3 separate regions of the Homo sapiens genome follow, and regions 1 and 2 are each linked to region 3. Evidence: promoter capture Hi-C in 16 types of primary human blood cells and fetal thymus (Javierre and others, 2016). All regions are on one chromosome and are shown on one strand. Each heading gives the region's core, a stretch centred on a gene start or on the middle of the fragment in contact. The rest is flanking DNA. Distances are from core to core; before and after follow the strand shown.

Region 1 (3,211 bases), core at 300-2,799, 140 kb after region 3:
CTTGAAGCCAGGAGGTGGAGGCTGCGGTGACCCAGCCTGCACAACAGAGACTCTAAAACAAAAGGAGCACCATCATAGATCTTGATGACATCAAAATAATAATGGAATATTATGATCAAAATTATACCTATAAGTTCAACTTAAACACCTTGCAAGGTACAAATTACAAAGACTGATGCAAGTAGAAAATCTAAATAGCCCCATTTCTGAGTTTAAAAGTTAAATTTGGCCAGGCGCAGTGGCTTGTGCCTGTAATCACAGCACTTTGGGAGGTGGGTGGATCACTTCAGGTCAGGAGTTTGAGACCAGCCTGGCTAACATGATGAAACCCCATCTCTACTAAAAATATAAAAATTAGCCGGGCGTGGTGGCAGGCGCCTATAATCCCAGCTACTCGGGAGGCTGAGGCAGGAGAATAGCTTGAACCCAGGAGGCGGAGGTTGCAGTGAGCTAAGATCACGCCCTCCAGCCTGGGCGACAGAACGAGAGACTGTCTCAAAGTATATTAGCAAATTTAATCCACAAACAAAGTGGATACAGTATAAGCAAGTGGTTTTATCCCAGAAATTAATGTAACTTATTACATTAATAGATTAAAGGGAAGAACCATTTGACAAAATTCAACACCTATTATTGGAGGAAAAAAAACCTGCAACAAACTAGAAATACAACAGAACTTCCTCCATGTGCTGGGCAGAGATTCTCTACCTGAACATGATGGGGATTTTGCCCAGAAAATTCTTTGCTGGGGTGGGGAGAGGCTGTGCTGTGCATCCTAGAATGCTTGGCAGTGTTCCTAGCCTTCACCCTCAAGATGCCAGCATCAACGCTCCCCACTCAGCTGTTTGTGACAATGAAAAATGTCACATGACAGGCCAAGTGCAGTGGCTCACGCCTGTAATACCAGCACTTTGGGAGGCCGAGGTGGGCGGATCATGAGGTCAGGAGATCGAGACCATCCTGGCTAACATGGTGAAACCCTGTCTCTACTAAAAATACAAAAAATTAGCCAGGCGTGGTGGCGGGCGCCTGTAGTCCCAGCTACTCAGGAGGCTGAGGCAGGAGAATGGCGTGAACCCGGGAGGCGGAGTTTGCAGTGAGCCGAGATCACGCCACTGCACTCCAGCCTGAGTGATAGAGCGAGACTCAGTCTCAAAAAAAAAAAAAAAAAAAAAAAAAAAAAAGTCATATGACATTACCAAATGTCCCTGGAAGAGGTGGGAAATCACCCTCGGTTGAGAATCATTCATTGTGTTAAGGATATTAACAACAATGACAAAAGCTACAGCTAACATCATACTAAATGATGAAATACTGAATACTTTCCCCAATACTGAAAACAGGGAAGGGAAATCCCTTTACACCACTTCTGTTCAACACTATAGTGAAGTTCCTAGCCAGTGAAAGAAGGCAAGAAAAAGATATAAAAAGCATAGAAACTGGCTAGGAAGAAGTAAAACTGTCTTTATTCACAGATGTCATAAGCATGTAATTAGGAAATCCTAGGGAATCTACAAAAATAAAAAGCTACTAGAATAAGTGCACTTAGGAAAGTCACAAAAATAAAAGCCAATATACAAAAATAATCACATTTCTGCATACTAGCAACAAACCATAGTTAAGTGAAATTTTAAAAACAAAACCATTTACAATAGCCTCAAAAATCAAATGCTAAGACTATATTTAACAAAAGATATTCAAAAATCTCTATACTGAAAACTACAAGGTATTTTTGAGAGAAAAACCTAAATAAATGGAAATATTTGTTTATGAATTCAAAGAATTGGTGTAGGCCGGGCGTGGTGGCTCACGCCTGTAATCCCAGCACTTCGGGAGGCCGAGGTGGGTGGATTACTTGAGCTCAGCAGTTTGAGACCAGCCTGGCCAACATGGTGAAACCCTGTCTCTACTAAAAATACAAAAAAATTAGCTGGGCATGGTGGTACACACCTGTAATCCCAGCTACTCAGGAGGCTGAGGTAGGAGAATCGCTTGAGCCTGCGAGGCAGAGGCTGCAGTGAGCCGAGATCGCACCACTGCACTCCTGCATGGGTAACAGAGTAAGACTCTGTCTCAAAAAACAAGATATCAGTTCTCCCCAAATTGATCTACAGATTCAACACAATGGCAATTCAGATCTCAGCCAGGTTTGTTGAGGAATTGACAAGCTGATTCTAAAATGTACATGAAAATGCAAAGGACCGGCCGGGTGTAGTGGCTTATGCCGGTCATCCCAGCACTTTGGGAGGCCAAGGCAGGAGGATCACCTGAGGTCAGGAGTTTGAGACCAGCCTGGCCAACATGAGGAAACCCCATCTCTACTAAAAAATAATTAGCCAGGCGTGGTATCGGGTGCCTGTAATTTCACTTAGGAGGCTGAGGCAGGAGAATTGCTTGAACTCAGTAGGCAGGGAGGTTGCAATGACCTGAGATCACACCACTGCACTCCAGCCTGGGCAATGGAGCAAGACTCCATCTCAAAAAAAAAAAAAAAAAAAAAATGCAAAAGACCTAAAGTAGTCCAAACAATCTTGAGAAAGAACACGTTGGAGACTCATACTATCGAATTTCAAGATTTACTATAAAGCTACAGTAGTCAGGGCAGTGTTATATTAGCCTAAAGATAAACCAAAAGATCAATAGAACAGAACAGAAATCCACCTATACACATATGACCAATTGATGTTCAGTAAAGATATCACAGCAATTCAATGGGTAAGGGAAAGTCTTTTTAACAAACAGGGCTAGAACTACTGTATAGCCATATAGAAAAATATAAACATATTCCTGCCACATACCATACCCCCACCCCAAATTAACAGGAACCAAAGACCTAAATTCAAAAGCCAAAACTAGAAACTTCCGGAAGAAAACATAGAATATCTTTATGACCTCGGGCTTAGCAAAGATGTTCTATATTAAATGTAACAGGCCAGACACAAATGTCTATGTATTGTGTGAATCTATTATCTATGAAACCCAAGAACAGGTCAGACTTATATGTAGTGATGGAAATCAGTCATTGCTTCTGGGGTGAAGAGAAAGGAACCCAAAGTAACTCTCTGGAGTGACGGAAATTGGGGCATTGGTGACAGGGGTCATTTGTCAAAACTCATTAAAGTATACATTTAGTATCTGTGCTTGTTGTCTGTAAATTATAGCTCAATAAAAACTGAGTTTTGGCCAGGTGTGGTGGCTCACGCCTGTAATC
Region 2 (3,361 bases), core at 475-2,974, 180 kb before region 3:
GGCGCGGTAGCTCATGCCTGTAATCCCAGCACTTTGGGAGGCCGAGGTAGTAGATCACCTGAGGTCAGGAGTTCAAGACCCAGCCTGGCCAACATGGTGAAACCCCGTCTCTACTAAAAATACAAAAAAAGTATCTAGGCATGGTGGTGTGTGCTTGTAATCCCAGCTACTTGGGAGGCTGAGGCAGGAGAATCACTTGAACCTGGGAGGTGGAGGTTGCAGTGAGTCAAGATCGTGCCACTGCACTCCAGTCCGGGTGACAGAGTGAGACTCCGTCTCCAAAAAAAAAAAAAAAAAAATACTTCAGTCCTGGTGACAGTGAGACTGTCTCCAAAATAAATACATACATACATACATACATACATAAAATAAAATAAATGGGCAGAACGTGGGGAGGTTGTCATGAGGACCGAATGTGTTCACATGTGGAAAGTGCTTCCCACAAGGTCTGATTCTTAAGGGGTTGAAGGATGTGATGATTACTTCTGTTCTTCCAGTGCTTCTGTGATTCACATGTTACTAATGAATTATTAGTGTATTAATGGCATGATGTCATGGCTGCATGGTTAGTTCATTGCTAACCCACCTCCCCTGGCCCTAGGATTGGAGGTGGTTCATTGATTCTATCATGACATCTCTGAGACCTCCCAGGTGCCAGGCAATGCTGGGACCCAGGCTGAAGTTCAACCCAGGCCCCACCAACCAGGGCCCCTACTCTGGAGCCGAAATACCGAGGGACGGGCTGTAACGGAGGTAGCTCAGGGCACGGTCAAGTGCAAGGAGAACCTAACTGATCCCGGAGAGGCAGGCTTCTTGGAGGAGGCAAACCTTGGCAGTGCTCTGGAGGAGAAAGGAGACAGGATTTCAGGGGAGGACAAGACACACACTAGCTGTCTGATCCACTCCCAGAGTTCAGCACAGTGCCTGAGGCCGCCTGCAGCCAGCTGGCACAGTGGATGGTCAAAGCCACAGGTGCTTGGATCAAACACAGCTGTAGGACTCACTAGCTGCATAACCTAGGGCACCGCCTCTGTGCCTCTCTTCATTTATAGCAACTATTTGAGGTGCTGTGATATTCAGTGGAGTGTTGTGATATTCGACCGTTTGAGGTGTTATGATATTCAGTAAAATGCTTAGAGCCAGGGTCTGCTTCAGAGCCGGGCTTTTTTTTTTTTTTTTTTTTTGAGACACAGTCTTGATCTGTTGGCCAGGCTGGAGTGCAGTGGCCCGATCTTGGCTCACTGCAACCTCTGCCCCCAGGTTCAAGCGATTCTCCTGCCTCAGCCTCCCGAGTAGCTGGGACTACAGGCACCTGCCACCACACCCAGCCAATTTTTGCATTTTTAGTAGAGACAGGGTTTCGCCACATTGGCCAGGCTGGTCTTGAACTCCTGACCTCAGGTGATCTGCCCGCCTTGGGCTCCCAAAGTGCTGGGATTACAGGCGTGAGCCACTGCTCCCAGCCATATATATATATATATTTTAAAGTATCTCCAATGAAAATTTAGCATCTGATGGCCAGGCCAATGTGGTGAAACCCCATCTGTGCTAAAAATACAAATATAAAAATACAAAAATGAGCTGGGCATGGTGGCACACGCCTGGAATTCCAGTTACTTGGGAGGCTGAGGCAGGAGAATGGCTTGAGCCCTGGAGGTGGAGGTTGCAGTGAGCCAAGATTGCACTATTTTGCACTCCAGACTGGGCAACAGAGCGAGACTCTGTCTCAAAAAAAAAAAAAAAAAAAAAAGGCTGGGTGCAGTGACTCATGCTTGTAATCCTAGCACTTTGGGAGGCTGAGGCGGGTGGATCACCTGAGGTCAGGAGTTCGAGACCAGCCTGCCCAACATGGCGAAACCCCATCTCTACTAAAAATACAAAAAATTAGCCAGGCATGGTGGCGGGTGCCTGTAATCCCAGCTACCTGGAAGGCTGAGGCAGGAGAATCACTTGAATCGGGGAGGTGAAGGTTGCAGTGAGCCGAGATCACACCACTGCACTCCACCCTAGGTGATAAAAGCGAAACTCCATCTCAAAAAAAAAAGAAAAAAAAAAGAAAATTTAGCATCTGAATTACTGAAATTACTGAGATGTGCTGAAAGAGTAAAATACATTCTGGATTTCAAAGGCTACAAATAAAGGAATGGATTGGCTTTTTTTTTTTTTTTTTTTTGAGACAGAGTCTCACTCTGTCGCCAGGCTGAAGTGCAGTGGTGCGATCTGGGCTCACTGCAACCTCCACCTCCTGGGTTCAAGCGATTCTTCTGCCTCAGCCTCCCGAGCAGCTGGGACCACAGGCGCGCACCAACACACCCAGCTAATTTTTGTATTTTTAGTAGAGATGGGGTTTCACCATGTTGGCCTGGATGGTCTCAACATCTTGACCTTGTGATCCACCCGTCTCAGCCTCCCAGAGTGCTGGCATTACAGGTTTAAGCCACCGTGGCCAGCCTGATTGGCCTTTTTTCTGAGATTGTGACTTTCCTAGGAAAACTGACAGTTGTCACCTAGTTAAAAGGAATGGCTCCAGAGCCTGGCTGCCTGGGTCTGAGTCCCAGCTCTGCCATTTCCCAGCTGGGACATGCTGTGAGCCTGTTTCCTGTGCTGTGAGGTAGGGATTATGCTGACATCGGTCGCTCCTGCTCTTTGCCTGTTTCCTCTCTGAAATGCTGGTGACAGCAGATGGCAGCAGTCTGCTTTGTAGTTTGAAATTGGACCTACCAAAGAGACAATATAGTGTGGGGCAGGAGAGCTCAGCTTTCAGAGTTTGTAAATCCTGAAACTGGCTATTCTTCCACCCTTGGTTGGAGGCGCTCACGCTTTCTGGTCTCAGGATCTTAAAAATCACTGAGTTTTAAAAATCAAAGAGTTTGCCGGGTGCAGTGGTTCATGCCCGTAATCCTTGCACTTTGGGAGGCTGAGGTGGGCGGATCACTTGAGATCAGGAGTTCAGAACTAGCCTGGCCAACATGGTGAAACCCTGTCTCTACTAAAAAATACAAAAAAAAAAAAAAAAAAATTAGCTGGGCGTGGGCGCCTGTTATCTCAGCTACTTGGGAGTCTGAGGCAGGAGAATTGCTTGAACCCAGGAGGTGGAGGTTGCAGTGAGCCGAGATCACACCACTGCACTCCAGCTTCGGCAACAGAGCAAGACTCCATCTCAAAAAAAACAAATTAAATTAAAAAAAGTTTAAATGCTCCCTCTATAGGTGTTCCTCCTATTTTTGGAGGGAAAATGTCCCCATCTATGTAGAAACCTCAGTTCTTGGCCACAAAACAGCAAGCAAGCTCATCTCTGGGAAAGCCGAGGTGCCCAGAGCCAAATACTGCAGAGGGTCAAGGGAGTTGACAACTAAGAATA
Region 3 (3,047 bases), core at 127-2,626:
CCCGCTGCCACCGTTCTGGAAACACGGGTCTTTGAAGAGAGGCCCTTCCAGGGTCTGGAACACCCTGCAGGGTGCAAAGGGGGGCGATGGCCTTGGCTGGGCCCTGGCGCACGGAGTGGGTTCGGGATGGAGTCCTGAGGGACCCCGGGGGTGTTGGTTGATCTCGGGGGTCTGACGGGACTGAGACGGGGACACTGAAGCAGGATGGGGCCCTGGCAGGAGCTCTGGGTGGTGTGGGCCTTGGCGGGCTTTCAAGGGCTCTGACAGGATTTTGGGGGGGTCTCTGACTGGATTTCTGGGGAGTGTCTGGCTGGATTTTGGAGATTTTGATTTCTGTGGGGGTCTCTGACTGGATTTCAGGGGTCTCTGGCTGGATTTCGGGGGTCTTGATTTCTGCGGGGGTCTGATTGGATTTCTGGGGGTTCTCTGACTGGATTTTGGGGGTCTTGATTTATTCGGGGTCTCTGGATTTTGGGGGTCTTGATTTATGCGGGGGTCTCTGGATTTCTGGGGGTCTCTGGCTGGATTTTGGGGGTCTTGATTTCTGCAGGGGTCTGACTGGATTTCTGGGGGTCTCTGGCTGGATTTGGAGGGTCTTGATTTCTGCGGGGGTCTCTGAGTGCATTTCGGGGTCTCCGTTTCTGGGGTGTCTTTGATGGACTTCTGTGCTCTCTGACGGAATCTGAGGTCCGACTGGGTTTGGGAGGGGACCTGCCAGGATTTCTGGGGATCTCTGACACGAGTCTAGGTGGCTCTGCTGATCTGGGGAGAGTAATAGGATTTTGGGGAAAGTTTCTGGCAGGCTCTGAGGGAGAAGTCTGACAATTTCTAGACGATTCTGACAGGATTTCGGGGGTCAACTATAAGATTTCCTGGTGGACTCCTTTCAGTATATCTGAGGGGATGTGGTCAGGATTTTTTTTTTTTTTTTTGAGACGGAGTCTCACTCTTGTCACCCAGGCTGGAGTGCAGTGGCGCGATCTCAGCTCACTGCAACCTCTGCCTTCCAGGTTCAAGCAGTTCTCCTGCCCCAGCCTCCTGAGTAGCTGGGATTATAGGCGCGTGCCACTACGCCTGGCTAATTTTTTGTATTTTTAGTAGAGACGGGGTTTCACTTCCCCGGGATGGTCTCTATCTTCTGACCTCGTGATCCGCCCGCCTCGGCCTCCCAAGTGGTCAGGATCTGGGGGGCCCTGACGCAGGGGTATCTCTCCCACAATATGGGGGGGCTTCGCTAGGATTTCGGTAGGGGCTGGGAAGGGCCATTCTGGGAACCTCGCCGCGGGGCAGGGCGCACCTGGAGCCACGTCCTAGTCTCGGGACACAACGGACATCCACGAACGACGAACGGCAGTTGAGTTGGGGGAGGTGCGCGTGAGCTTTTCCCGCCAGAAAAAGCAAAAGGAGGCGAGGGGTCGCGAGTGCGCGTGCGCAGCGTCTGAGCCCCGCCCCTCCCCGCCCGGACTCCTCTTAAGACGCAGGTGCAAACCGGCGGCCGACGCGTGTCACGCATGCGCGCTGGCGGTGTGGGCTGTGGCCACGGAGTTTGTCTGGTGGTGGAAGGAGGGGGTGGCTGCGCCCGCCATGCTGGGGCTCGTGTTTTTCTCTTCCGCTTCAGGCTTTGGTGAAATGGGCTGAGGAAGGGGGAATTGAACTGAGAGACTCCTTGTCCGTCCCCCATTTCTTTCTTTTTTTTTTTTTTTTGAGATGGAGTCTCGCTCTGTCGCCCAGGCTGGAGTGCAGTGGGACAATTTTAGCTCACTGCAACCTCCGCCTCCCGGGTTCAAGCAATTCTCCTGCCTCAGCCTCCCGAGTAGCTGGGATTACATGCGCCCGCCACCACACCTGGCTAATTTTTGTATTTTTAGTAGAGACGGGGTTTCACCACGTTGGCCAGGCCGGTACCGAACTCCCAACCTCAGGCGATCCACCCGCCTCGGCCTCCCAAAGTGCTGGGATTACAGGCGTGAGACACAGCGCCTGGCCTGTCCTTTTTATGTATTGCCATATTTTCTTTTCTTTTCTTTTCTGTGAGATCCCTGTTGAGTTTTGTTAACAAGGCTATGCTGATATAATGTGTGGAGAAGTGTTCTCTCTTTTTCTATTCTTTGAAAGTGCTAGTGTAGGATTGATGTTATTTATTTTTTATGTGTTTGGAAGAAGTCACCAGCCATCTGGACCTAGAGTTTTCTTTGTGGAAAGACTTTAAATTACAAATTCTATTTCTTTTATAAAAATACAACTATTCAGATGTTCTATTTTATTTCTGGTAAGTTGTGGTTTTGGTAAGTTGTGGTTTTCAAGGAATTTTTCCATTTTATCTAAAATTTCAAATAATTTGCATAAAGTTCATAATATTGTCTTTTTTTGGAGGGGGAGAAACACGGTCTTATGTTAGGCTGGTCTCGAACTCCTGCCCTCAAATGATCCTCCTACCTTGGCCTCCCAAAGTGCTGGGGTTACTGGCATGAGCCACCATGCCCAATCTTTTTAATATCTGTAAGATCTGTGGTGACGGATATTAATAATTTGTGCCATCTCTCTTTTCCCCCCTCCCTTCCCCTCTGCTCCTCTCCTCCCCTTCCCCCACTCCCCTCCCCTCATCTCCCCTCCCCCGTACCTTCCCCTCCCCTCCCGCCTCCCTTCCCTTCTGCTCCTGTCCTCCCCTTCCCCCACTCCCCTCCCCTCATCTCCCCTCCCCCGTACCTTCCCCTCCCCTCCCCCTCTCTTCCCCTCTGCTCCTCTCCTCCCCCCACTTTCCTCCCCTCATCTCCCCTCCCACCTCCCTTCCCCTCCCCCTCCCTTTATCTCCCCTCCCTTCCCCTCCCTTCCCCCTCCCTTCCCCTCCCTTCCCCTCCCTTCCCCTCCCTTCCCCTCCGCGTCCACTGCCTCCCCTCCTCCCTCCCCTTCCTCCCCTCCCCTCCCCCCTCCTCTCTTTCTGAGACAGGTTCTCACCCAGGATAGAGTGCAGTAATGTGACCCTAGCTCACTGCAGCCTCCACCTCCTGGGCTCAAGTAATCCTCCCACCTCAGCCTCCTGAGTAGGT

Evidence for each region. Contacts are between HindIII fragments. The CHiCAGO score rates a contact against its expected background, and 5 or more counts as called.
Region 1: a contact is called between a fragment that was not itself captured here and the fragment with the promoter of KASH5 in region 3, in 2 of 17 cell types (naive B cells and total B cells). The highest score is 8.8, in naive B cells.
Region 2: a contact is called between a fragment that was not itself captured here and the fragment with the promoter of KASH5 in region 3, in 5 of 17 cell types (naive CD8 T cells, total CD8 T cells, total CD4 T cells and 2 more). The highest score is 9.7, in naive CD8 T cells.

The regions. Positions count from the first base shown.
Region 1 is chr19:49,246,002-49,249,212 of GRCh38, reverse strand. The region is part of intron 2 of LOC107985340 (a long non-coding RNA gene); the gene reads right to left. Among named protein-coding and RNA genes, the nearest start is that of MIR4324, 61 kb to the left of the region's middle. The HindIII fragment of the contact is 8,311 bases long and covers 1-3,211 here.
Region 2 is chr19:49,570,796-49,574,156 of GRCh38, reverse strand. The region is part of intron 1 of NOSIP (nitric oxide synthase interacting protein); the gene reads left to right. Among named protein-coding and RNA genes, the nearest start is that of NOSIP, 8.1 kb to the left of the region's middle. The HindIII fragment of the contact is 3,513 bases long and covers 1-3,361 here.
Region 3 is chr19:49,386,578-49,389,624 of GRCh38, reverse strand. It overlaps KASH5 (KASH domain containing 5), which reads right to left and starts at 1,376. Exons shown (of 20, transcript NM_144688.5): 1 at 1,298-1,376. LOC101928295 (a long non-coding RNA gene) reads left to right here and starts at 1,544. Exons shown (of 3, transcript NR_110729.1): 1 at 1,544-2,269. The HindIII fragment of the contact is 10,613 bases long and covers 1-3,047 here.